Linked DNA regions of Homo sapiens: regions 1, 2, 3, 4, 5 and 6 are each linked to region 7. Evidence: promoter capture Hi-C in 16 types of primary human blood cells and fetal thymus (Javierre and others, 2016). All regions are on one chromosome and are shown on one strand. The core of a region is centred on a gene start or on the middle of the fragment in contact, and the rest is flanking DNA. Distances in the headings are between cores, read along the strand shown.

Evidence for each region. The method cuts DNA at HindIII sites, captures the fragments that hold promoters and counts their contacts. A CHiCAGO score of 5 or more calls a contact.
Region 1: a contact is called between a fragment that was not itself captured here and the fragment with the promoter of UBE2W in region 7, in 11 of 17 cell types (naive CD8 T cells, neutrophils, total CD8 T cells and 8 more). The highest score is 10.4, in naive CD8 T cells.
Region 2: a contact is called between a fragment that was not itself captured here and the fragment with the promoter of UBE2W in region 7, in 1 of 17 cell types (non-activated CD4 T cells). The highest score is 5.6, in non-activated CD4 T cells.
Region 3: a contact is called between a fragment that was not itself captured here and the fragment with the promoter of UBE2W in region 7, in 8 of 17 cell types (naive CD4 T cells, total CD8 T cells, non-activated CD4 T cells and 5 more). The highest score is 7.9, in naive CD4 T cells.
Region 4: a fragment that was not itself captured here is called in contact with the fragment with the promoter of UBE2W in region 7 in 1 of 17 cell types (total B cells); the score reaches 7.8 in total B cells.
Region 5: a fragment that was not itself captured here is called in contact with the fragment with the promoter of UBE2W in region 7 in 5 of 17 cell types (naive CD4 T cells, naive CD8 T cells, total CD4 T cells and 2 more); the score reaches 8.7 in naive CD4 T cells.
Region 6: a fragment that was not itself captured here is called in contact with the fragment with the promoter of UBE2W in region 7 in 1 of 17 cell types (M0 macrophages); the score reaches 5.2 in M0 macrophages.

What each region holds. Positions count from the first base shown.
Region 1 is chr8:73,301,256-73,305,318 of GRCh38, reverse strand. The region is part of intron 2 of RDH10 (retinol dehydrogenase 10); the gene reads right to left. Among named protein-coding and RNA genes, the nearest start is that of RDH10, 8.7 kb to the right of the region's middle. RefSeq lists an enhancer at 574-1,075. The HindIII fragment of the contact is 9,398 bases long and covers 1-4,063 here.
Region 2 is chr8:73,026,541-73,030,106 of GRCh38, reverse strand. It overlaps TERF1 (telomeric repeat binding factor 1), which reads right to left. Exons shown (of 10, transcript NM_017489.3): 6 at 3,055-3,167. Among named protein-coding and RNA genes, the nearest start is that of TERF1, 19 kb to the right of the region's middle. The HindIII fragment of the contact is 1,057 bases long and covers 1,443-2,499 here.
Region 3 is chr8:73,278,721-73,282,376 of GRCh38, reverse strand. It overlaps a transcript of C8orf89 not described here. Among named protein-coding and RNA genes, the nearest start is that of RPL7, 13 kb to the left of the region's middle. The HindIII fragment of the contact is 2,364 bases long and covers 522-2,885 here.
Region 4 is chr8:73,166,929-73,170,634 of GRCh38, reverse strand. The region is part of intron 2 of LOC107986891 (a long non-coding RNA gene); the gene reads left to right. Among named protein-coding and RNA genes, the nearest start is that of SBSPON, 76 kb to the right of the region's middle. The HindIII fragment of the contact is 839 bases long and covers 1,644-2,482 here.
Region 5 is chr8:72,999,791-73,003,439 of GRCh38, reverse strand. No RefSeq gene overlaps it. Among named protein-coding and RNA genes, the nearest start is that of TERF1, 7.2 kb to the left of the region's middle. RefSeq lists enhancers at 717-1,259, 1,260-1,803, 1,804-2,346, 2,347-2,891. The HindIII fragment of the contact is 2,026 bases long and covers 1,118-3,143 here.
Region 6 is chr8:73,324,890-73,328,915 of GRCh38, reverse strand. All of the region lies in intron 3 of RDH10-AS1 (RDH10 antisense RNA 1), which reads left to right. It overlaps RDH10 (retinol dehydrogenase 10), which reads right to left. Exons shown (of 6, transcript NM_172037.5): 6 at 3,635-4,026. Among named protein-coding and RNA genes, the nearest start is that of RDH10-AS1, 30 kb to the left of the region's middle. The HindIII fragment of the contact is 8,611 bases long and covers 1-4,026 here.
Region 7 is chr8:73,876,607-73,880,389 of GRCh38, reverse strand. It overlaps UBE2W (ubiquitin conjugating enzyme E2 W), which reads left to right and starts at 1,528. Exons shown (of 6, transcript NM_018299.6): 1 at 1,528-1,582. The coding sequence starts at 1,568. LINC01617 (long intergenic non-protein coding RNA 1617) reads right to left here and starts at 1,408. Exons shown (of 3, transcript NR_147034.1): 1 at 1-1,408. RefSeq lists silencers at 1,296-1,585, 1,726-1,775, 1,796-2,055 and enhancers at 1,442-2,319, 2,796-2,845. The HindIII fragment of the contact is 3,471 bases long and covers 529-3,783 here.

The DNA.
Region 1 (4,063 bases), core at 888-3,387, 580 kb after region 7:
TTAGATATATTCAAGTTACTAAAACCGATTCATTAGAATTTCCCAAAGATCTCAAAAATCTGAAGCATGATCAGAGTAAAAACAAATGTAGGAGAAGAGAATAAGTGGAGTGTGAGCAGTTAAGTATTAAACTACAGGGTTTGTAGTGACCCAATCCTGCAATGAATGGCTAAGGGCTCTGCCGGGGCACTCTGCATTCAGTCTTTTTGAGAAAGCTATTCAGTCAGTGTTAGCATTAGCACAGGCTACACAATGCTTCCACTTTGACATATCCTATAGATTGATTTTATTTGGGCAGAAAATGGATAAAGCCTGGGATGTAGAAATAATGAGGCAGAAAAGAACAAATACCAACTTTGCTTCCTTCCAGGAATTGAGATAAATAACACAACTCACTCCATGATCAAACAAGAAAGGGCCATTCCTTGAGCCAAGAATTTCATGACTATTTTACAGGGACTGCCATCTTAACATATAAAGATATTATTAAGTGAACATGAAAATGTTTTGAACTTGTTTTTCTTTCTCAGGAATAGTGACGGATTTTTTTCTGAACTATTCAACTTCTGTTGTCTTCAAGTAAAACAGGACTCAAATGGCAGAACAGCCAAGCAGAGGCTCTTGTGTGAAGCATAAGTGTGTGCAAGGCTCTCTCCAGGCACAGTGAGGAGTCCAGCCCATCTGAAGTTTACAGTAGATGAGGGGATAAATAGGTGCTGACCTGGAAAAGCAGGTGGAAATCAGCTTTGGAAGGCCCAGGATGCCATGCTAATGAGCCTGGACTTCACGCTGTGAGCAATATGGTCATACAAGTGTTTTAAGCAGGCAGATAACAAACTCAAGGCTGCTTAGATGACCCTAGGTTGGAAAGCCAAAAGCGAATACAGGAAAAGAAGATCAGAGGCACTTTCAAGAGTCCAGGCAAGAGGTGATGGAGGCACACAGGATGAAGTAGGAAAGGAAAGGGGCGATCAATCAAAGCACAGGGGCACAAGCAAATAGTCAGGATTTGGGGACCCATGAATGTACGCAGGCTGGAGAGGTGAAGATAATGCTGATGTTTCTAAGCCTGGTGACCAGGGAATGCAAGAAGGAGCAAAGAGGAGTTTGTTCAGTTTTGTGACATGCTGCTTTAAGAGAATGTGTGGCGCAGTCAAGGTAGTTGAAGGCAGACAGAGAAGCACGACAAAGTGGGCTTATCATGGAAGCTAAAGCACTTGAGTTTCAAGGAGACGGTCAAGAGGGTCACATTCTGTAGAAAGATGAAGCTGCACACTGGATTTGGCAATGAGGGGAGCATTGCTGTTTTTTTCATTTAGGTTAGAAATTATGACATTGGTTATTTAGCAGTTATTTTTTAAACAACTGAGAAAAACAGACACAGATTAGAACATATTGAAGATGTTGGAGAACTTTTTATCTGATGCAGCGTCTGGTTCCCTATTCACACCAGCTATGTAAAGTGATATTTTATCATGTCATAGATTTTGATTTCTAGTAGCAACAGATTTGGGCCCAGCATGTAATGTATCAAATACAGAAACTCAAAGTTCAATGAGCATGTGATCCTATTTGGTGTATATAGGTATTCAGTCCCAGGTACCAAGCAGTTCCTATCAAAAGAGATGTTTTACTCAGTTTTCAACTGTGACTACAAGAATAAGATAAAATTGACCCCAGGTCAATTTACAACTCTGTTTAAGACATTGAAAGTACTTCTAAAGTTCAAACATTTTTATACATATGACATATATTTAATAACAGAAACCAGTTCTACTGGAGACTTCTAAAAATAGGCCATGAATTCCAAGTGTTTAGTAGCTATCTTAAGATAGGAAATCAATATTCTCTATAAACTAATTAGTCTTACAGTTATTATGGTAAGGAGAAATACTGGCCAAATATTTTTATGAATACTTTAGAAATGATTTTTGAAATTCTAAATGTAAGAAACCTTGAACAAAACTAGTTTCTGTAACCAGAGAACACAGGAATGCAGTATGTGAGATTAAAAACCAGTAAATCACATAAGAACCTAAACATTAATGATTAGGGACCATTTATGAGATATTAGGTACAACTGCAGCACTAATGTCTTTAAGTGCTACATTACTCAGATCTAGCTGGTGGGCTTTTACTTTTCCTGGATAGATTTTAACTAAATAGACTTTAGACATTTGGATATAGATAAATGCTTAATTCAGTAATTAGTATTTTAAAACTGTGAAACCTTTTAAGTTAAGTGGTCTATTAATTAACTACCAATTATCTTGTCTGACTACCATATCAATAGAAGTAAATTACCTACTAGCTATTTGACAGATTTAGTCCTTTACCATGCAAAAATTCTTCAGAATATAAAAGGCCTGGAGTTAAATGCTTTTGCTTCCCCCTTTTGGTTAATCAGGGATCAATTTGCTGCTCACGTATAAAGGCCAAATGCAGCTCTTCGGTTAAAAAGGATCTACAGATAAACTTTGGCTTTTAGAAATAGCAAGCTAAGATTCTACTTCTCTTAAAAAATAACAAGTAAAGCAATGTTAGTACTTTGAGGAAAACATGGGTTTGCATGGAGACCAACTTTCCATATTTCAAAGTAGAATACAGAGAGATATTTTTCTTTTCCTTTTTTTGAGACAGAGTCTGGCTCTCGTCACCCAAGCTGGAGTGCAGTGTTGCGATCTCAGCTCATTGCAGTCTACAACCCCTGGGCTCAAGCCAGCCTCCTGCCTCAGCCTCCTGAGGAGCTGGGACTACAGGCACGTGCCACCACGCCCAGCTAATTTTTGTATTTTGGTAGAGACAGGGTTTCGCCATGTTGCCAACGCTGGTCTTGAACTCCTGGGTTCAAGCAATCCACCCTCCTCGGCCTCCCAAAGTGTTGGGATTACAGGCTTGAGTCACTGCACCCCGCCCAAGAGAGGTATCTTTCAAGTTTTTACATCTCACCCAGATACAAACAGCCCACATGAATAATTTCTATGCTAGTGTTAAAGTGCATGATAGTGCATTCATTTTCCATGGTCTTGTACTGGGTGTTTCACAGTAGATTATGCTGACTAGAACCTACCCCAAATCTATCACTAAGTCTTGACTGGTGACCAGGAGAAGGTTCCTAGGAGAGCTACTGGTGATGGAACAACATTGGAAGATGAAGCGTCACAGCAGACTGGAAGGCTGTACAGAATTATGCCAGGCTGAGGAAAGGCTTCCAAAGGGTACAGAAATGGTACATGGTTAAGAGGGAAGGAAAGAATTGCCAAGGGGGTCCTCTTTTTGAGGACTGATCATTGGTAAATATGAATGGCTGTTACACATTCATTGTGAGCTTCATTCAAACTGGCATACCAACACCAGCCTTATCAAGTCACTAGCCTCACACCAATGAGCAGAGTTCTAACACAAAATAGTAAAAATCAGAACACATGTGGGACAGGGAGAATGGAAAGTTATGTAGGAAAGCAAAAGAAAATATGAGTGACAACAAGGGTGAGACAGCCCTGGTTTGCAATAATGGTCTTACACAGCTTTAGTCCAACATAATGCTCACCTTTTTCTTTCTTGAGATGGAGTATTGTTCTGTCACCCAGGCTGGAGTGCAGTGGCGCCATGTCTGCTCACTGCAACTTCGGCCTCCCGGGTTCAAACAATTCTCCTGCCTCAGCCTCCTGAGTAGCTGGGATTACAGGCTAGCACCACCACGGCTACTTTTTTTGTATTTTTAGTAGAGACAGGGTTTCTCCATGTTGACCAGGCTGGTCTCGAACTCCTGACATCAAGTGATCCGCCTGCCTTGGCCTTCCAAAGTGCTGGGATTACAGGTGTGAGCCACCGTGCCCAGCCCATAATGCTTACCTTTTAAAACTTCAGAACATAGACCCATGTGAGTATTCTCTGAATAGGTTATCTTCTAAATATTTAAGCCTATTATTATCAAATATTTATTGAGTGACTTAAGAATAGAGTTTTGGCCGGGCGCGGTGGCTCACGCCTGTAATCCCAGCACTTTGGGAGGCCGAGGCGGGCGGATCACGAGGTCAGGAGATCGAGACCATCCTGGCTA
Region 2 (3,566 bases), core at 722-3,221, 850 kb after region 7:
TGTAGTCAAGCATTTATAACACTCTTTCAAAAACTCTTCTACGGCACTTTATTTCCATGAATTCAAGTTTTAAAAACTGCTTTATTAAGGTATAATTGATACATAAAAAGCATGGCACATGTTTAAAGTATACAATTTGATGGGTTCAATTTTAATTTCTGGTTCTCCCCACCAGTCTCCAATTGAACTTTTGGGAATCGATTAAGTTCCCGTTTGTTATAGTTAAAATGGTTTCCACATACACACAGCATGACTATTTACACCTCCATGCTTTCACTAGTAATATTCCTCTCTCCTAAAATGATATTTCCTCTTCTATCCATCTGTAAAAATCTTAACCATCCTACAAAAGCCCCTGTTCAAGACTACTACCTCCATGAAGCTGTCCATCTCAACTATTTCAACACTGTGTTAGATATTTTAAGTAATCTAGAGATGATTTAAAGTATATGGGAGGATGTGTGTAGGTTGTATACAAATATTACACCCCCTTTTTTTTTTTGACAGGGTCTCGCCGAGGGTCACCGGAGTGCAGTGGCACAAACACAGCTTACTGCAGACCTGCCGGGCTCAAACAATCCTCTCACCTAAGCCTCTTAAGTAGTTGGCACTACAGGCATGCACCACCAAGACTGGTTAATTTTTGTAAAGACAAGGTTCTGCCATGTTGCCTAGGCTGGTCTCAAACTCCTGGGCTCAAGTGATCCTCCTGCCTCAGCCTTTCAAAGTGCTGGGATTACAGGTGTGAGCCACTGTTCCTGGCTATTACACCATTTTTGTAAGACACTTGAGCATCCATGGATTTTGGTATTCATGAAGGATGGATGTCCTAGGACTAATCCCCTTCAAACACCAAGGAACAACTGTATAAGCTTTATCAGAGCAAAATATTTATTTCATCTAGTCTTCATAACATGGAGGTTTCCATTTTTCTAGGATTTGTCTGACCTCACAATCACACTTCTGATTCTATACTTGCTTTACTTGAATCCTTACTGGTAACTGTCATGACACTGGTGGTTTGATGCTTTATTTGCCCTGGTTCTGCTTCCACGATGGTTTTGGTATTTGCTCGATTCTTGATCTTTACCCTGTTTCTGGTTTTAGTTTTGTTCCCTGTAACTAGTGTACAGCAAGTTCTAATGTATGCCTGGTAATGAATGAGGCAACAAGGATACCAAGCTAATTAAGATGCTTCAAAGCTAAGTAAGAACCTTCAAATAATTCTCAATCTATTGAAAGAATCAGGTAAACAAATAAGTTACCAACGAAGATAAGTCCTTTTATAGAGATGTATGCTATGAAAGCACAGAAGTAACAACTCTGATTACAGAGCTGGGCAAGACTTCATATAGGTGATCTCTGAGATAGACTGAATGGCAAGGAAGAGCTTGCCTTGGAGAGAATAAAATGATAGGAATTCAAATAGAAGGAACAAAGCTTCTGTGCTGCTAGAAAGTACCATGTATGTGGACAGGGAGGAGTTCATGCTTAGGGATAAGACTGTATGTAAAAAAAAAAAAAAAAAAAAAAAATGGGTCTACGTAAGGCTTTATAAGCCATGCCAATAAATTCTGACTCATCTAGTAGGAAATAGGAGCCAAAAGGTTTTTAAGCTGGGAGTGATCTAAAGAGATTTATTTTTGTGGAAGCTAACTCTAGAAGTTATGTCAAGGATGGATTTGAATGGTACAAAGCTATATAGATAAAAATAGATTGGAGAAGCATTTCTGAGGTGCGGTTCCTAATACTTGGAGAGCAGCTGGATGTGTGAGGTTAAAGAGAGGCAGGGTGTAGAGAGGCAAATGAGAACATGAAGAGTTCTGTTTGGTACACATGGATTGCACTGTGTTTGTGTCTAGGAGAGCATCTGAAATAAGTGGGTAGCACTATATAAGGAGAGTCCATAGGAAGTGTGCTCATGATTATCTGTAAGAACCATGGTATTAGCAATATTATCATGAGCAGGATGGCTTGGCCACAAGAATGTACTGGGTATTAGTATCATTCAACTTTGATTTTTGAAACAAAAGGAAGTAATTGGGCCAATAAAAATGGAATCTCTACTTCTTAAATTGGAGTTTAGAAAAAAGTACATCAATGTGAAATAAGACTTTAGTACAGCCTTTGGAGAGATGAACCCCTGAGGAACAAGTCATGCTTTGACAGGCAGGAACAATAGGAGGGGCCACTATAAGATGACAGAACCTCAGTCCTAAGATGTGACAAATGCAGTGTAGATCCAACTTGAACCCCAATCTCCACCTCTAAATAAGTAGTTAAGATGGGGTCCCTGCAACACTTAGGTCATGGTCCCAAGAAGAAAGTAATATTACATCCATTTCCAAATATACCCATCCAGAGACCACAGAGATTTGATTATCTGGCCTTGGTTTAAGGGTAGAAGAACAGAGAAAACAGACCATGGGTTCAACAGAAAAGAAGATCTTTATAATGTTAAGAGTTATATCTTTCTCAATAGGGGAAGATACTTAAGCTTCTAAAACAAAAGACAACAATCACCCCTGAAAATCCCTAAAGAAAAAATAATTTTGGAGACTTAACAACTATCTCTCAATATATAGGACTGACACAACTTGTTTTCCTCCAGTATTAAAGCAAATCACTATTTCTTCAGTTGAGCACCAGATGAAGCAGTGAGCTTATGCTTAGAGAAGATATATGAATAATATCTTAAAATACTAGACTCTTAGTACAGTGAAACATGAATCACATAATGAGAACATGTAGAATCTAAACACAACTAAGGGGCACAGGAGTCCAACCTCACCCTTGTTCCTAAGCATACCCCAAGAATGGTAAACTATCCACATTATTTAAACTGTAATATTTTCTTATTCTCTACTTTTGCTTAGCATATATAATTTGCACAAGTCATGAAATAACTCTACAGTACTTCAAATACCTAAATGTTAATCATCAGCAAGATAACATGCTACTCAATAATTATTTTTAATAAAAAGACATATCAATTTTACATAAAGACAGAACATTCATAAAACAAAAAATATACAAATTGATTAAATTACAAACCTTTTTCTTGTATCCAAATTAGCTTCAGTTTCCATTTCAACATCATTACCACTAGGTTTATCTTGAGAAGTTATTGTTCTTGTCCTTTTGCTTTCTACTACTTTTGCCGCTGCCTTAAAAAACGTGCGTGGAGGTAGAAGGATAGGAAGAAATGCATTAAGCCATTTTAAACAAATAGCATTAAATTAAGCCTTGTAATTCTTTGATAGTCATAGCTAATGTATCTGTTCACAGGCCAATGAAGGGCACTGTGTTGTTATTTTCACCAATAATTATGACACTGCCAGCAGCTACATTAGCTATCTGCTTGGTTTATCAGCGTTACGAAGGTGGTCTTTCCTTGTAAATATATTTGATAGACAAAATGCTCTCTAGGCAATTTTAAGAGAAAAGGCTGCATGAAAAAAAAAAAAAATAAAAATTCTAGATATTTTCAAATAAAAACTATCTCAAATCAATCAAGATGCTCCACTATAACACTGTCAACTTAAAAATTTGGAGGCCAAGACAGA
Region 3 (3,656 bases), core at 454-2,953, 600 kb after region 7:
ATCTCCCCCGAAAGTAATATCTCCCTCCTTTTAACTCTTCTACTACTTTATATATCTCCTAAGGATTTAATTTATACACACCGCTTTGTATTATAGTTGTATAAGTGGCTACTGTTTTTTCTTCTGGACTGGAAATTCTGTGCAGGCAGAATCTCTCTTTAGTTATTTTTGTGTGTTTTTTGTGCACGTGACACATTTATGTGTATATCGTACATGCTTAATGAATATATTTAAGTGAGTTACTACATTATTTGAGAATAAAAAGTCACATGTATTAGCCTATTGCTAGCTGTAGTGACAAACAGATCCCAACATTTTCTTGATTTAACATAGAAAAGTTATTTCTTGCTCACATAACAATTTCAAGGTAGGCGTCCCTGGTCAGCAAACGGCTTGCTTTCACTTGGTAGAAGGACCCAGACTCTGCCATTCGTCAGCACTTCACTCTTGTCTAAATCCAGTCAGCAGAAAGGCAAGGAGAAACTATGGAGAAAGCATACTTGCTTAGCTTCTTAGAAGCTTCTTGCAGTGTTACACATTACATTGGCTCACATTCCAGTCACAGGGAGGCAGCCACTTCCTAGAACAAACGCTATTCTCTGGAGGAGGAGCCAGGATTTTAGTGGACAAACAACCTTCTCTCCCACAGTTGATTTCTACTTGTGAAAACCTTTGGGACTTAGCTTGAACATCACTTGCTCAAAAAGCAAAAACAAACAAATAAACAAACAAACAAACAAAGAAAACCTTCCTACTTCTCCAGTCTGGTTAAGGTCAGCAAAAGTTCTGTTGTGCCATAGAATTTGAACGTAGCTTTATCGTAATGAACTAATTACTCCTCCCCACTACCTCCCATAGACCATGTGCTTTATCTTTAATCATTGTTGTATTACAACTACTAGCACAATGCATGACATGAATAAATAAATATCTTTCTCAATGAATCTATAACTCATCTTTCTTTATGTTCACTTGGTAATTATTTTGGTTCAAACAACCCTAAAATTAAAGATTATTTTGCCACCTGCTGTTTGACATTTGAGTTATTTTCATTCTCTTTTCTATTATAAGAAATACAGGAATTGATATTCATGTATCAATGATTATTTCTTTTTCTTTTTGTGGAGACAGGGTCTCATTATGTTGCCTAGGCTGGTCTCAAACTCCTGGGCTCAAGAGATCCTTCTGTCTCTGCCTTCTAAAATGCTAGGATGACAGGTGTGAGCCACCACACCTGGCCAGTGATTATTTCTTTAGGATAAATTCCCAGAAGTAGAATTGCTGGGTCAAAAATATATACAATTATAAGGACATGTATATTACTAGATTATTCGCTGGAAATATTACACCAATATATACTCCCACTGAAACCTTATTCCTTGCACTCCATCTTACTCTATTAATAGTAAAGAAAAAAATCCCTGCCATTTTGATTGGCGAAAGTAGCTCATTATATTATCTGCCTTTTATTTGAGTACTAGAGAGAATGAATTTTTTATTGACTGTATTTTCTCTGCAACAAGTTACCTGGTCTTTAATAAATGCACTCTCAGGATTATTTTTCTTTTCTTTTTTGATTTTAATATATACATATATGTATATATGTATGTATGTATGTATATGTGTGTGTGTGTATATATATATGTGTATATATATGTGTATATATATATGTATATGTATGTGTATATATAAAATAAATTACTGGCCAGGAGTGGTGGCACATGCCTGTAACCCCAGAACTTTAGGAGGACGAGGTGGGTGGATTACCTGAGGTCAGGAGTTCAAGACCAGCCTGGCCAACATGGTGAAACCCCTTCTCAACTAAAAATGCAAAAAAATTTAGCTGGGCCTGGGGCCATGTGCCTGTAATCCCAGCTACTCAGGAGGCTGAGGCAGGACAACTGCTTGAACCTGGGAGGTGGAGGTTGCAGTGAGCTGAGATCGTGCCACTGCACTCCAGCCTGGGCAACAGAGTGAGACTCCGTTTAAAAATAAATAAATAAATTATTCAGTTCTTTATGTCATTATTTAAAAAGCTATTCTGGGAACTTCTGGGCAATGTGGCAGACTGAGCTGGCATGGAAGGGTCCCCATTTTGCTTCAATATATTTCAAATGCTGAGTAAAAGATAATTTATGGAAATGTGGCTAAGCTAGGAACAAAGAAAAGGAAATCCCCAGGTGCCTGAAATGAAGGAATGTTCACAGAGAAAGCCACCGTTGAGCCATCTGCTGAAAGCTGGGAGTCACAAAGAAGTACTGTTCAGTTACTATGGCTTCATAACAAATTTCTCCAAAACTTAGTGGTATGAAACAACCATTTATTGTGCTCATGGATTCTGTGGGTCAGGAATTCGGACAGTGCACAGCAGAGACAGCTTGGCTCTGCTTCAGGATGTCTGGAGCCTCAGCTGGAAGATTTGAAGGCTCAGGACGGGAATCTCCTGAAGGTTTATTCACTCACATGTCTGGTGGTTGATGCTGGCTCTTGACTGAGACCTTAGCTGTAGATGTCAGCTGTAATCTTTGTATGTGGCCTCTCCATGTCACCTGGCTTCCTCACAAAATGGTGGCTGGATTTCAAAGGTGAGTGTCCTGAGAGCCAAGTGGAAGTCATATCACTTTTATGACCTAGCTTTGGAAATCACATAGTGTGGTTTCTACTGTTTTTTTGTTTGGCTGAGGAAGTTGGTTTCAGGGAAAGAAACATCTCACCTCTTGATGGAGGAGAGGAGGAACATCACAGTGAAGGAAGAGCATGTGGGACTGCATATGCATTAGTACACCTATCTTTGAAAAATAAAATCTACCACAAGAACCCTTTGACCCTAAGAAGATAACTAGAAAAACATCCCCTTATTGACCTGAGGAGGCAAGAAGGAAGCTTGCCATCTACTTGAGCTATGGTAAGAAAAGAGTCAGCTGCTAGAGATTAGAGATTAATGGTCCATACTAGCTCAAGTCTGGGGTCTGAATTCATATTACTACATGGTCAGGACCGTAGTCCAAGAAATTGACATTTTAGCTGGTCTGGTACCTCTGACACCCAGGGCCAGGCAAAGATCAATGAAAAACCTCTCTGCATAGCAAAGTTCCTGTAATTCAAGGAATCCTTGACTTCTATAGATATCGATCTCTCTATAGATGAGTTTGCAAAGATTACAGAATATGTAAGGAAATTAACTGCAAGGAAGCAGACTTGGCAGATGCTGCAAACGGGAGATTTGTACCCTAAAACTAAATAGAATGGCATAGAAAAAAATTTAAATTTTTCATATTCAAGAAGGTGAAGGAATGGAAACCATAAGACAAGAACAAGACCATATGAAGAAGAGCAGAAGGACTGGGAAAATGTCCTGTAATACTTAGGACAGTTTGGTACAACAAAGAATTGTCCTTTTAATTAACAGGGTAGCTAAAATGAGAATTAAAAAGGGGGAAAAAAAGAAAAAAAGAGTTGTCGTACCTAAGATGCTTGGGTTGAGACTCTCAGTATAGAAAATAGGGGGAGTTATGGATCACTAAAATGACTATAGTTAAAGATAGTCACTGAACACACTCATTAACTCACTTTCTTCTAAAATTCTATTGATAGGAAAGGGTTTAAAAATTTTTTTAATAGCATGGATTTATAAGGACTTAGAGAATAATAGATAT
Region 4 (3,706 bases), core at 814-3,313, 710 kb after region 7:
ATCTTCTTGTTCTGGAACAAAGGCTGCAGGAGCAGCATGCAGCCATGGCAGAGAGCAGCAGTGCAAGAGGCGGAGCCACGGCACATGCATTCACTTCAGGTTGCTGCTCAGGCGAGCCTGCGTCATGGCCCCCCGTATCCTACTGGCCAAAGCAAGTCTCACAGACAACCCCATAGTTGTTGGAGGCAGGGATGTGATATGAGGAAGGAGGAAGGCGATGCTTGAGCATAGCTGTTCTGTCTGCCACCATTAGTCATTCATTCGTTCATTCATTCATCAAATATTTCTTGAGTGCTAACTCTGTGCTAGCACTGTATCAGAAATTGATCTATAGAAGTAGACCGATCTGCCTCCTGCCCTTGGGGAGCTTGCAATCTAGTATGGGACACAAATAATAGAACCAGCAATTATAATGAAGGCTGAGCCCAGTTCCAGATTCCAGATCCCTTAAAAGGGTAGTGGAGCAACATAGCACTGAATGACCACCATGAACTTTTAGGGATAAATCACTCCAGAATGTTATCATACCAAGGCCTGTAAACTTCTCTAGAACCTCTTGGTGTGTTTCTATTCACCCGTGGCCTTGGACCTGATGGCTATGTAAGAACACATGTAAAAGATAAGTGTGAATGAATCAACGTTTTTCCACTGATGGGATGGAAGATGGGGAGGGGTGGTGGAAGGCTTCTGTTCTTGAAAAGTCTACTCAGGTCACTAGTGGCCTCCTGGGACTATTTATGGCCTTGTTTGCTGAAATAATGTCAAGTCTAGCATGTTACCTGCCTTGATATCTTTTATCCCACTTGCCATCTGCAAACCCAGACCCACCTGCCTTCCTAGTCTGCTCATGTCCTGAATCAGTAAGGACTTAAACAGATTCAGCTCTGTTTTCGGGGGCTGAGGATCCAGTTACTGTTGGGTACTTGCCTCCTTGACTGGCTGCCCCAGCCTTGAAAACTGGATTCCTGCTGCATCCCTAAGCTTTCTTTATAACTTCTCAAACTCTGCCACACTGTTCTGACCCATCCTTCCCAGGCTTCCACCCAGTGATTCCCTGTATATCTGTTTGATCCCCAGTTCCAGGGTTAATAACTGCCAGCACTCATTCAACATCTTTACAGAGTGGTATCTCTCACAAAGCTCCTCCCTGTGGGTTCCACTTCTCCTGTGGCCCGCTTGATCTCGGGACCAGGAGACAGACAGAGTGTTCTCCTTACATCCCAGTGTGGCCTCCTATACCCTGGTGACACACTTTGCTCCTTTGCAAGGAGAAATTCTTGGTTACATTTGTGTGGATGGCTTCACTGGTCTTCAGGGAAGCCCCTGGCAAAGGGTAGCTGCTGCTCTGCTCCACACTCACTGCTTGGTGCAACCAAACTACTGAGAAGGTATTGAGGAGTGGGTTCATGCATACGATGTGCAGACGGTGGCCAGGGAGGGGATGGCTTTGAAGTAGGGCAGACCAAGGATTTCCTCCGTGACTCGTTCACCTTTTCCATGAGTTCTTACACAGACATCGGGTCCAAGGACATGGGTGAATAGAAACACATCCAGAGTTCTGGAGAAGTTTGTACAGGGCTCACCGAGGCTGAAAGCAAGCCAGCCAAGTGGGGAAGCAACTCAAGTGCCCTGTCTGCAAAGCTTTACTGAGATTTATTTGGAAAGTTATGGTCTCTCCCACAACGAATCTGTAGATTGCCTTGCTCTGATTACAAGAAGAACGTTGAGGTCTTCATTAACAGTCATCATCAGATTCCTTCTCTCCTTAAGGAGATTAATTAGGTAAATTTCATTACAGTAACATCAAGTTTCTTGGAAAGAAACCATTCAACTTGAGAATGACTTTGCGTTTATATCTGGAAACAAAGCAATGTGAGTGTTTACAGTGAAGAACATGAAACGTTAGGTTTTAATAGATGTTGATGTCATTCTTGGCCTCCTGCAAATGATATAAATGACTCTGTGAAGAGGTAACACATTGTTAAATGTAACCAAAATGCGAAGAAAGAAGTGAAATGTACACACATGACGTTCAGCCCTGCCTCCCACTTCCCTCCCCTGACTTCGCCATCTGAGCTGAACCAGAAAACCACTTCCCTCCCCTGCCTTCACCATCTGAGCTGAACCAGAAAACGGCAGCTGACATGCCCCATCTGTCAGATGTCAAAGAGAGAGATGGAGGACTCTCTCTCGTCCTGTTTAGTGGGCTGATGGTCTAGAATTTCCAAAGGGGAGCCCAAATGGCCAAGGAAAGAGAGGCCAGGTTCAGACCTGGCTCTGCCACGACTTGTCTGACCTTGGACCAATCACCCCCTCTCTGGGCCTCAGTTTCCCCACATATGAGCTGAGAAGTCTGAACTCACAGGCTTCCAGCAATCATCATAAAACTGCTGAGAGAATAACTTTCCCACCATTTGGGTAGATTGTACAATATGCAGCCATTTGACAACTACCCTTTCAGCCCCAAGGGAATATAGAAGCTTTTTTTTTTGGTTTTGAGATGGAGTCTCATTCTGTCACCCAGGCTGGAGTGCACTGGTGCGATCTTGGCTCACTACAACCTCGCTTCTCTAGTTCAAGTGATTCTCCTGCCTCGGCCTCTGAGTAGCTGGGATTACAGGCACACACAACCACGCCTGGCTAATTTTTGTATTTTTAGTAGAGATGGGGTTTCACCATGTTGGCCAGGCTGGTCTCAAACTCCTGGCCTCAGGTGATCCACCTACCTCAGCCTCCCAAAGTGCTGGGATTACAGGTGTGAGCCACCGTGCACAGCCAGAATATGGAAGCTTTGAGTCTGAGTCCTTGAACCTGCCCAGGTGGCCAATCTGTGGCTGACCTCAGTGACAGTCCAGGGCTAGGACAGTGTTGAAACTCTGCCGCTCTGCTCCACACTCACTGCTTGGTGCAACCACAGTTGTTGAGGAGGTATTGAGGAGTGGGTTCATGCACACATGGGCCCGTGGTGGCCAGGGAGGGCATGGCTTTGAAATACGGCAGACCACGAGTTTCCTTAATGACTTGTTCACATTTATCTTCTCCATGAGTTCTTACATAAACATCAGGTCCAAGGCCACAGGTGAACAGAAACACATCCAGGGTTCTGGAGGAGTTCTGTCAGCTCAGAGACAGACTGTGTCAAAGCTTGCTCTTAGGACCTGCTGCCCCCACCCCGCTCTGTCCTCCATTGGTTTTGCCAGTTTTCAGAGTGTCACCCTATGTGACTCATTCTCACACCATTGCCAGGTGGGCAGGGCAAGTGTTACGTAGCATTGCTAAATGGAGCTCAAGTGTGTTAAGGAAATTGAAATTTAGACACAGCATACAATTTCTTCCATAATGCTGGGGAGAGGGGCGTCTCTCTGTGATCTCTCAGTACCCCTAAAGCCATTCTGCACAGCAGCTTTGGATGATTGGATGACTTTGGGAAGAGTTAGGCAAGGTCCAGAGTGATCTGTATATCTGATTTCCCCTAATAATTAATTAGTTAGTTTGTTCTTCTGTGGAGGCTTTAGGACCTGGCTAAGCTTTTAGTCGTCCTCTAGATCAGGGGTCACTAACCCCCAGGCCATGGACTGGTACTGGTCTGTGTGTGGCCTGTTAGGAACTGGGCCACACAGCAGGTGAGCAGTGGGTGAGTGAGCATTACTGCCTGAACTCCACCTCTTGTCAGATCAGCAGTGGCATTAGATTCCCACAGGAGCAT
Region 5 (3,649 bases), core at 881-3,380, 880 kb after region 7:
CTCCCTCCCTCTCTCCCTCCCTCTCTCTTTCTTCTTTTCTCTTCTCTTTTTTTCTTTTGTTTTCTTTTCTTTCTTGATTAGTCTTGTTCTGTTGCCCAGATTGGAGTGCAGTGGCACCATCTTGGCTCACTGCAAACTCCACCTCCCGGTTCAACTGATTCTTCTGCCTTGGCCTCCCAAGTAGCTGGGATTATAGGGGCCCCCACCACGCCGGGCTAATTTTTGTATTTTTAGTAGAGACAGGGTTTCACCGTGTTGACCATGCTGGTCTCGAACTCCTGACCTCAAGTGATCCTCCTGCCTCAGCCTCCCAAAGTGCTAGGATTACAGGCATGAGCCACCGTGCCCAGCCTAGGTTTGAATTCTTTCTCCACCAATTTCTCTTTACCCTTGAGCAAATCGATTAGACACTTTACTCCTATGTTCTTATTTGTAAGGTAAGAATAACAACACCTACTTTAAAGAGGTGTTTGGTGGTTGAAGGACTCAATGAATAGTTGTGGTTGTTGATAGTCTTATCCAGTGTTATCTTTCCACTATACCAAGTGAAAATCTAACTCATCTGAATGTTTGCATTTAATCTACCTCTTTCACTGAGTAGCTTTGTGTGATTGTGGGGATGATTCTTTACCTCTCTATGCCTCTTTCTTTATCTGTCTCATTGGAAATAATGGTTCCAAACTCAGAGGATTGACATCAGAGTTAAATGGAAAAATACATCCGAAAGTGCTCTGTAAACTGGCAACAGTCATTTTTAAAGTGGAACTAGAGCCATTGATAGATGGCATGATTTGTGACTTAAAAACAATTGGGATTGCAGGGGTGGTTATGTGATTGTGTAAAAACTCAGAATTGTACCCCTAAAATGGTTGGATTTTCCTGCTTGTAGGTTATCCTCAATCTGATTTTTAAGAAAAAACAATTTGGGGGATTCCTGTTTTTAAAAGGTAGAAGTTTTCTTTTCTATGGACTTCTCAGAGCTTTAAATACACTAATGTGGATCATGAATTTCTGAGTGAAACATGTCCCATAATTGATCACTGCACTCCTTTTTTTGCAGAACATCCTATATAATTATCGTACTCCGGGAACCATAGGTTCTTGACCACTGAAAGCTTCACTGAAAAATCACTAATGTAAGGCAGACTGATTAACAGAAGAAAAGGCATACAAATTTATTTAATGTGTGTACATGGGAGCCTTAAGAATGAAGACCCAACATCCTGAGCCACAGTAAAGAATACAGACTCAGAGGGTGGCCAGAAACAGGTTATGTTGATAAATCAGCAGGTGATGAGGGAGAAAGTAACAATCTTGGCTAGCAAAGGTGGCCTTGTTATGTAAATGAAACCTCCCTTGGAGAGAATAGATGGTAAATGTTTCTTTTCAGACTTTTAAAACGGTCAAACACTCAGCCTCTCCTGGATTCAAGAAAGGCATAGAAAGGGGAGGGGGCATGGCGGCATTAATGGAAATTCTCTACAGATGCATATTTTCCCCACAAAAGACAGCTTTGCAAGGCCACTTCTATTTGCTGGCCAGGTGGCAGCCATTTCAAAATATGTCAAAGAAATATATTTTGGGGTAAAATATTTTGATTTCCTTCAATAGCAACAAACACAATTTGAGAAATGCTGCTGTAAACTACCAGGCAAATATATGCAGCTAACAGTTATTAAGTTTATTCCATGATATCTAAAGATTATAGAAGACTCAGATCACTTGACCCATTTGATCATGCCCTCCTCCTGGATGCGTTTTCTTTATTTGACTTACAGGATAACATCCTTTGCTGGTATTCTTCACACCTCACTAGCCACTTCTTAGTATTCCTTGCTGACTATATCTCTTCTTGCTAAACTCTAAATGTTGTAGTGTCCTTAACCTCAGCCTTTGAACTTCATTCCCTAGTTGATCTTATCTATTCTCTCTGTTTAATATCATCTAGATCCTGTTGAGACCCAAACATAAACCTCCCTCTCTAAAATTTCTGCTGAGCACCCCCACATCACTGCTTGGATTTTTGTGCATCTAAATTGACAAGTCCAAATATAACCCATACCCCATCAAACTAGACCACGCTTGTCCAACTCATGGCCTGTGGGTGGCATGCAGCCCAGGACAGCTTTGAGTGCGGCCCAACAAATTCATAAACCTTATTAAAACATATGAGATTATTTTGTGTTTTTTAAAGCTCATCAGCTATTGTTAGTGTTACTGTATTTTATGTGTGGCCCAAGACAATTCTTCTTCCAATGTGGCCCAGGGAAGCAAAATGATTGGACACCACTGAACTAGACCTTACCTCATCTTTCCCATCACAGTCAATGGCACTGCCATTCACTTAGCCAATTAATTGGGCCAAAGACACAAATTTCATCTTTGATTCCTTTTTTTATTTCACACATCAGATCTAGTCCTTCAACAGCTTTGGTCAGCTCTACCTTCAAAATAGATCCATAATCTGACTATTTACCATGATCTGCATCTCCACCCTCAGCCAAGTGACCCTCATGTCTCATATGGCCCACATAGTAGCCTCACAATAGCTCTCCTTGCTTCCACTCTTGCCCTGACATGGTCTTTTTTTTTTTTTTTTTTTTTTTTTTTTTGAGCCAGAGTCTTGCTCTGTCACCCAGGCTGGAGTGCAGTGGCACAGTCTCGGCTCACTACAACCTCTACCTCTTGGGTTCAAGCAATTCTCCTGCCTCAGCCTCCCAAGTAGCTGGGATTACAGGCACCTGCCACCACACCTGGCTAATTTTTGTATTTTTAGTAGAGATGGGGGTTTCACCATGTTGGCCAGGCTGGTCTCGAACTCCTGACCTCAGGTGATCCATCCACCTTGGCCTCCCAAAGTGCTAGGATTATAGGCATGAGCCACTGCACCCAGCGATTTTTTGCACAATAATCTGAATGGCCTTTCTAAAATGTAAATCACAACTTGTCATTCGCCTCCTCAAAACCTACCATGATATGTGATCATTTTTAGAATAAAACCCAAACTCTTTATTAAAGACTACAGGGCCTTACGTGATATTTTCCCTACCTAGTTTTTAACCATATCTATTAAAAATTCTGTCTGTTGCCACCACTGCTATAGCCATTCTGGCCTTCTTGCTATTCCTCAAATAGGTTAAGCTTGTTCCTGTTCCAGGGTCGTTGCACTTGCTTTGACTTGATTGTTTTCTCCAATATTTGTATTGCTCCCTGCCAACCCATTTCATTCAAATGTCACCTTTCTTCAGAGATACTTTCTTTGACTATTTAAATATTTTCTATCTGCAGTACTCTACATAGCATGTTTCACTAACTGATGGTATTTTAGTTTTCTCTTTGTCAGTCTCATTAAAAAACAAGATACGCTAAGGAAGGCATTTTTGTCTGTGTTGTCTACTACCGTATCCCCATGGCTAGAAAACTGCTTATCATGTGGTGGACATTCAGTTGATATTGAATGAATCTGTTACATTTTTCTTAGACATGGCTAGAAGAAAATTGATACTCAAAGAGTAGAAAACATTTTTATCAATGAAATTCCTTATAGATTTGAAAACATCAGCTATTAAGAACTCAATAGTACTCTCAGATTTGCTGTTTATCCACAAAAAACAGAACCTTCAGTTTCTATCTTTGCCCCCTTTCCCAA
Region 6 (4,026 bases), core at 1,046-3,545, 550 kb after region 7:
TAATCCAAAATTACCTCATCTTTCTTCGTTGTTGAGACAGGGCCTCCCTCTGTCGCCCATGCTGGAGTGCAGTGGCACGATCACGACTCACTGCAACCTCAAACTCCTGGGCTTAAGCGATTCTTCGGACTACAGGTGTGCACCACCACACCCAGCTGATTTTCTCATTTGTTGTAGACATGGGGTCTCACTATGTCATCCAGGCTGGTCTTGAACTCCTGGACTCAAGTGATCCTCCCACCTCAGCCTCCCAAAGTGCTGGGATTACAGGCATGAGCCACTGAGCCTGACCAAAATGATCTCATCTTGATTACATCTGCAAAGACCCTATTTCCAAGTAAGGACACATTTGCAGGGACTAGGGGTCAGGATTTCAACACATCTCTTGAGGGGACATGATCCAATCCACAACACTGAGCTCTTAAGCAGGAACTCTGTGGCTGCCGGATACTGTGCTGTCAACATACGTAAGTATGCCTGTGTCCAGGCAGGACTCCCATCTGCTCATTAGCCTCCTGGACCACTCAGGCCCTGGATAAGCTGGGCTGGCCGGGAGATGGCCACCTGCTAGCAGAGGGCTGGAGGAGCTGGGCTCAGGTTCCTCCCTAGGGGGAGGGGATGCCTGCTGAGTGGCATTCAGGTGGACCACCCATGAGGTATGGACAAGGAGAGGGGCATTCTTCATGGCTGCTATGCACACACGTTTCTCCCTGCAGCATGGTTTCAATCACCTTGACAGGAAAACCTCAAACTTAGAATCTGGGCTGAAGATGCTTTGTTTTTCTTGCTAATCAATTCTCTTGCGTTTTGCTAGTGGTAGAAATGTTTCAACAGTCACAGCTCAAAAGCCTGTGAGGAGCTCCTGGAAGACATTAAGTTCTCTACAGCAACGGAGCACGTTAAATGAGAAATAATTACTCAATGAGCAGGATTCTCTGGACTGTGTGGCTGTGTGTTGTCAATGCTTTCCCCCAAATAATAGATGAGTTGTGAAATGTGTAGGTGCTTTGGTATAGCTATTGTAATGTAGGAACTGCAATCCCCAGAAAGCGTCATAATAAACAGTAGCAAGACTGTGGTTCCACACTGCTCTGCCGTGACATTTCCTGGGAAAGCTGGGAGTCACTGCATGTCCACCTTGACCCAGGACCTGCCTGAGAGGTTCTTGGCCCGCTGTGAGTTTAGTGCTTCAAGGACCAGATAGGAACCCGTCTTTTTGAGCACCCTGATAGAAGCAGGTCCTGTCTCATCTTTTTGGCACATAAAAATAGTTCATTTGCACTAACATGTATCCATTTGGTGATACTCAAAGTGCATTTTGTTTTTCCCCAGGGTTCTGATGAAACATTGCTTGCACATCTAAGCAAGTCATGCTTCTGAGGCCAAGCAAAGAAAATTGCCAAAGAACAACAGTTTCCAGGATTCACTCAGGAAGAAATTTTCCTTTGGTCCTTTTAACAATGGATTCAGTTACTAGAAACCCGAGTGCATGGTCGAAGCCTCCATGTGCTGTCTGTTAACACTGCCCTTCACCTTTTGGGCCTCTGCCCCAGGGCTGGCCACACAGACTCTTTTTCTTGGGCCAGACTGAGGTTTCTTAAGTGTGACTCAGCCTGGGGACTAGGTCCAAGCAGAGGAGATAATTATTTCTAGTCTGGTTTCTCCTTGGGAGGAGAAAGTTCCCTTCTTAACTTTACTCTGTCACCTTTTACACCTTCTGCTGCTGCTCCCCCACATTCCCCAAGCTGGGTCCTTGGATCTCCACTCATTCTGTGCTTTCCCCCTCCCAGGTTTGTTCACTTCACAGCCTCTATGTGGATGACTTCAGGATCCCAGCACCAACCTGTTTCCCGAGGGCCAGGATTATTCGCCTGTCTGCCAGCTATTGTCACCCGGCATCTCAAATGCAACATTTCTAAATCAGATTCACTGTTGGTGAATTCTGTTCTTCCCACTTAAAACCACTTGGCTCGAGGGATAAGCTATCTTCAGTCACCTAGGCTTGCAAGTTCAACCTCCTGCGGTATCGGTTGCTCAGCCTGGGTTTCTCCCTCCATTCCCTATCCCCCTCTCTTGCTGGCCCATTCTTAGCACCTCCCCGTGGACTACTGCAATAACTTCCTTCCTCACTGCTCCCTACTTCTTGTGCCTTGAAATTCTTCACAGCGGCTTCATTGATCCTATTAACTTACAACTCTGCTTCTGTTACTTTCCTGCTAAAAAAAACTTTCTAGGGCTTCTCTCTTCTGTATCAAATGAAGGGCCCATTCCTCAGCCTGGAATGAAGGCCATTCTCAAGATGGGATCTCCTTAGGGAACGCATGTCATTCTCTTCCCATGTTCTATGCTTCAGTCATAATGAGTATAATCTACTTTTTTTGATCTCTGGGCCTTTCCTGAGAATCTGTTCCCCGGAATCTGCAAACTCCCATTCCCAAATCCATCCATTGCATCACCAACCTTCCAGGCCACCTTTCCTTCCCTTACTGAGATGTCATCATACTCTGAGGCTTCATTTGTGGCATGTGCACATAGGTACTTACATGTGTACTTGTGAGTTACCTGCACGCTCGAGTCCCTGGGATGGGCGCTTCGGCAGATGCCTGGTGTGCAAATGCTGACTACATGTGCCCAGGGCCCACATCTCACCACTTCCGAACCATTACATCCTTGCTTTCCCTACTCTTCTGACTCAGGCACAGGCAATACATTTGGCATAGAAAGAATGACCCTGTTCCCCCAACCCCTACTGATCTTATATTTTGCTGGAGGCAAAAGCAAATTTCCAAGATTCAGGTCAATGTCAATTTAGAATTATTTCTGCCAGTTGGAAAAGAAAACATTTTCTTTTAACTTGAGAAAATTTGAAAGCTACAGCCTTCTAAGGAAACAGGATACCTAACACACACACACACACACACACACACACACACACACACACACACACACACACACACACACACCCCAGCCTGGCTTTACGTAGCTCAATCCTGTCAGGCTAATCTAATCTTTTGTGACAGAGCAGCAGACCTGGTAGATCAAGGGGGAAAACAATAGTTGGAATTTATGTTTGTTGGCTTCAAAACTTTTGATTCCTGGGTCCCACTCAATATAATTATCATTAAATTGGTTGAAAGGTTAGAGAAAGGGAGAGTGCCAGTATGAGCTGGGGGTGGTGCTCACAGACAGAGGTGGTGCTCCTTAGGGGATCAGCCTTGAGTGCAGTGGCCCTGAACATTCACATGAATGGGCCAGATGACAAAAAAGAGAACATATTCAAAGTCAGCATTCATGTTAAGGGGTGGGGGCAGGTGTAGATAAATAACCAGCCAGAAAAGCAACCTTGGCAATTACATAAGTGATCAACACAAACAGGCAGACTTGTCTAGAAGAGATTTCATGTTTAGAAACAATAATGCACACAATCAGCAATGTAGCATTAATAAGAACGTGACATTGGGATGAAGAAATGCAACTTGTAGGAATTCCATAGTTCTAAACCTGCATTAACTGTATCCCTTTCCAAACTCCACAGCTAAAGATGGGAGGGAGAATATGGACAACATTCAAGGAAGAGCCACAGAAGTGATTGAACTGGGCTGGGACATGGGAATGAAAGACTTCTACAAAAAAGTTAAATGAATTAGTTTATTGAACTTGGAGATGGACACCCTTATAAGGGCAATAACAAACAAAAATAGAAATAGGTTTAAGTTATAACACACAAGAATAAAATTAGATGTAAAGACGACTTTCCTCAGTTTTAAGGTGGATAAGTGGGTTGTTAAATTATAACAGATTTCTCTAGGAGGGTCTGGTGTACTCCAGGCTCGCTGGGAGGCAGACCTGGATAATCTCTGAGTATATCTGTCCCCACCTGGCATTGTTGAGACCCTTCAGAGTACTTCTTTAGGTCCATGATTGAAAATTAAGAGGCAGCCAGTGCCTCCATTGTTATAAGGGCCATAAGGTTTGGTTATCTTTGATAAAGAGAAATGGAAACATATAACAGAGCTCTTCCTCAAG
Region 7 (3,783 bases), core at 279-2,778:
GGAAACTTCTTCTTTAAGTTTTCCTCTTTCATTGGAATATGTGGGTTTCCTCACTGTTGTAATGTTGATGACACAACAAGGCTAACACCGGATATGCTTCTGGCTGATTCCGGTTTACCAAGAGCATCCAAACATCCCTCAAGGACACAGTCATTTTGCACAACAAAGGGAAACTCCGCTCATTTCTGGCATTAAGGTGGACATCTGAGAAAGGGGAGGGTATACCACCATAACTTCTCTAGTGATGAATAGTGTTTAATATTATACCATAGACTAACTGGCGTATTTTAAAGATCTTTTTCCTTTTTGAACACATTTCAGATTAGAGAAGTTCCAGAGAACGTAATCTATTTTAAGAGTGTGAAAGAGTGATATTCCACATTGCTTTTATATCTTAAAGAAATTTCTAAAAAGAAAGCCGAGTCAATAAAATGACAGATTTTAAGCCTTCATTCTGGTAACATAAAAGCCTTCTACTCATTGTGTCTGCCACCTTAATTTTTAAAGATAGAGCATGAGGTGTAAGCTTTTGGCTTCCATTTTCCTCTTATAAACCAATGACATCTTCAGTTCCAGAATAGCTTTTTAAAAACGTGACTTCTGATAAATGTTGGCAGAACTGGTGCATTCCTAAAATAAATTATGTATGCTCAGCTTTCCCTACCCAAGTTCATCCCTAAATGACCACAAAACTGCCCACCACGAACTATGCTTAAGAGAAGTCTGGACATAATGGTATAAGTGTATATAACACGACATTGGTATATTTAAAAAAAAATTCATGCCTAGGGTCAATTCTGATAATCAAATTTAGACTGCTGCAACAACCGTAACTATTGTTGATATATGCGCAGTTTAAAAGTGAAGGGCGGGGGTAAGGGGCAGAAACTGCACACAACAAACTTCCAAATTTTGTCTCCCTTTTCAGGCAAGTTTCAGCTCCACAAATCTAAATACCCTCGCCTTTAAAATATCAGTGTCGTTCTGCTCTTAAATCCTCATCCCGTTGTACAAGGAAACCTATGTCTCTCTTCCCCAAATTAAGAATACGAGAAGCCTTCCAGGTCTGCAAATACCAGAAAGCAGCTGCGCATGAAGTTTTATGGGGCCCCAAGGCTCTGAGAGTGGGCTTGGAGGTATGGAAAACACATCCCAAGGGAAAAATCTGTGAACCGCACAACTGTGGTTGGAAACGAAATAGGAAAAAAACTGCGCGGAACCGGACGTCATCAGCATTTCGCGGTACACACGAAGAAAACAACCGTAGTCGGGTCAAAACTGGAGCCGTGTCTCCTCAGTAACGAGAGTAAATGGGGGCCCGACGCGTGAGCGGCCAGCCGGACTGAGACAGAAAGTACTCAGAGCGCCATTTACCGCGCCCTCGCCCCGCCCCGTAGCCCCTCCTCCCGTCCGCCCTGCGCGCCAGCCAATCCCCTCGCTCCATCCCCTTCCCATCGCAGACCCCGCCCCCGCGCCCGGGATGTTGAGCCCCCGCGGCGTGACGCGAGCACGGCAGCTCCTCCCCCTGCGTCTCTGGCCTCGCCGGTCTTGGGGGGATGGTTCCATCATGGCGTCAATGCAGGTGAGAGGAGTTTGCTGCATCTGGGCGGGCCAGGGAGCCGCCGAGAGAGTGCCAGCGTTCGGGCGGGGGTGGCGTCCGCGATTCGGGGACACCCGGGCGGGTTCGGGATCGGTCCGGGTGGCCTGTTTTCCCTCAGCTCAGGGCGTCGGGGGAGGGGTAAGAGGCGGCGAGAGGCGTTGTGGGGGGTGCGGTATCCGTCGGTCGAAGCGGACACCAGCCGGCCGGGAAGTTGGGTGATAAAGGAGGGTTGGGGAAGAAAGGGCAAAGTCTGGCGTTGGCGGTCTCAGAATCGGCTCCCCGCACACACACACGGGCGCTGCCAGTCTGCTGCCCGCCAGCCCCAGGGTTGCCTTTACCCCCGCTGTCCCTGGCCCGACGGAAACAGCTGCGCCCGCGGTTGTTGCCGGGGCAGGGGCGGCGGGGGGCTGAGTGTGCGGGAGCCGAGAATGCGTCTCCGGAGAAGGCGGCTGGCTGCGGACGGCGCTTAGCGGCCTCTGCTCCGGCCTCCCACGCCGGGCCCCCCAGACTGCTCGGCCCCGTCCCTCTCTTCTTCCCTTTGACTCTTAATCCTGTGCCCGTGGGTATCTTCTATTTCCATCAGCCTCGGTATTCTCGCGGACATTCCTCCAGCAGTCCACTGTCTCCTTCCTCTCGAAGCTGCCCCGTGTCCACCGCCTGATGGGCGATCTCCCGAGAGCCGAGTCCTCAGCCCCCTTAAACCTCTCGGGATAGCTTGCCTTCTATTTTGTTTCCCACTGCAAGGCCCCACCCTTGCGGTCGCGATAAGGCTATACATCTCTTTGCCCTTATTCCCAGACCTTTAGTGGAACCTTAGTTTGGTAGGAGGCGTTTGTTAACCTGTGCCATATCCCCCCGACTTAGCAAGGCGTGGTTTTCTGGCTTTCCAACTTAATTTACTCCTTTTTCCCGAATCTAGGGAGTTGTGGGTTTTTTTGTTTTTTGTTTCCAGGCAAAGATGGCAACCACAATTGTAGTTGTGCAGGGATTGAGTGCGTTATCTGTAGCCTGCATTTAATTCACAGGTGAAGACTAGCGGTATCAAAGGCATTGGAAGAGAAAGTAGAACGCTCAATAGGAGTGTCAGCTGAGTACCCTTTAGCGTTTTCATAATATCCCCTTGGGTAAAGAGACCACATTTTCTTAGAAGTGTTTTTTGCTTTTGTTTCTGGAAGAAGCAAGTCTCTGTTCCTCCTCCATTTTTTTTTCTTTACTCTGCTAAAAGTGTTTTTCTTCCCTTTTCTGCATCTTCTTCCTCTTTTGTACAAATATAGCTTTGCTTCACATTTACTCCTGTGCTTTTATGTTATTCCCCTTTCAACCTGTTTTCCTTACAATATTCTCTTTACCTTGCTTCTCCCTCTGGACTTGCCTGCAGAACAGAAAAGTTTTATGTAACATTTCTAGTTGAAGAGATATCACGAATGGTGCAGGGAAAAAACAGGAACAATTTCAGGAAACATTATACTTTACACTAGTCTCCCCAGAGACGTTGGAGAAGTTTCGTCATTTGAGGCCAAAAAAGGAACAGTGGAATGCTAGTTGAACAGTAGATGCAATAGGCTACATTACCACTTAAAGATTTTTATCTGTGTTAAGATTAAAACATTTTTTATGACAAGTTTAAGATTATTATCTGTATTAAGATTAAAACATTATTTGAGGCTAAACATTAAGATTAAAATCCACAACACTTGTATTTGACAAGAGAACGTAGTGTGTCATCTCGTTAGATTTAGTATCTGGAAAAGGCAGATTTGTTTGTAAGAGAGAGGTTGGTAATCTTGAACTTGAACTTTACATGGTGTCTTTTTTCTTTTTTGAGATGGAGTTTCGCTCTTGTTGCCCAGGCTGGAGTGCAATGGGGCGATCTTGGCTCACCGCAGCCTCCACCTCCCGAGTTCAAGCGATTCTCCCACCTCAGCCTCCTGAGTAGCTGGGATTACAGGCATGAACCACCACGCCCAGCTAATTTTGTATTTCAGTAGAGACGGGGTTTCTTCATGTTGGTCAGGCTGGTCTTGAACTCCCGAACTCAGGTGATCCGCCTGCCTTGGCCTCCCAAAGTGCTGGGATTACAGGTGTGAGCCACCGTGCCTGGCCTACATGATGTCTTAAGAATTGGAAACAAATACTTGATTGACAGTGCAATAGTGCATTTTTCTGTGCCCTAAGTATTACTA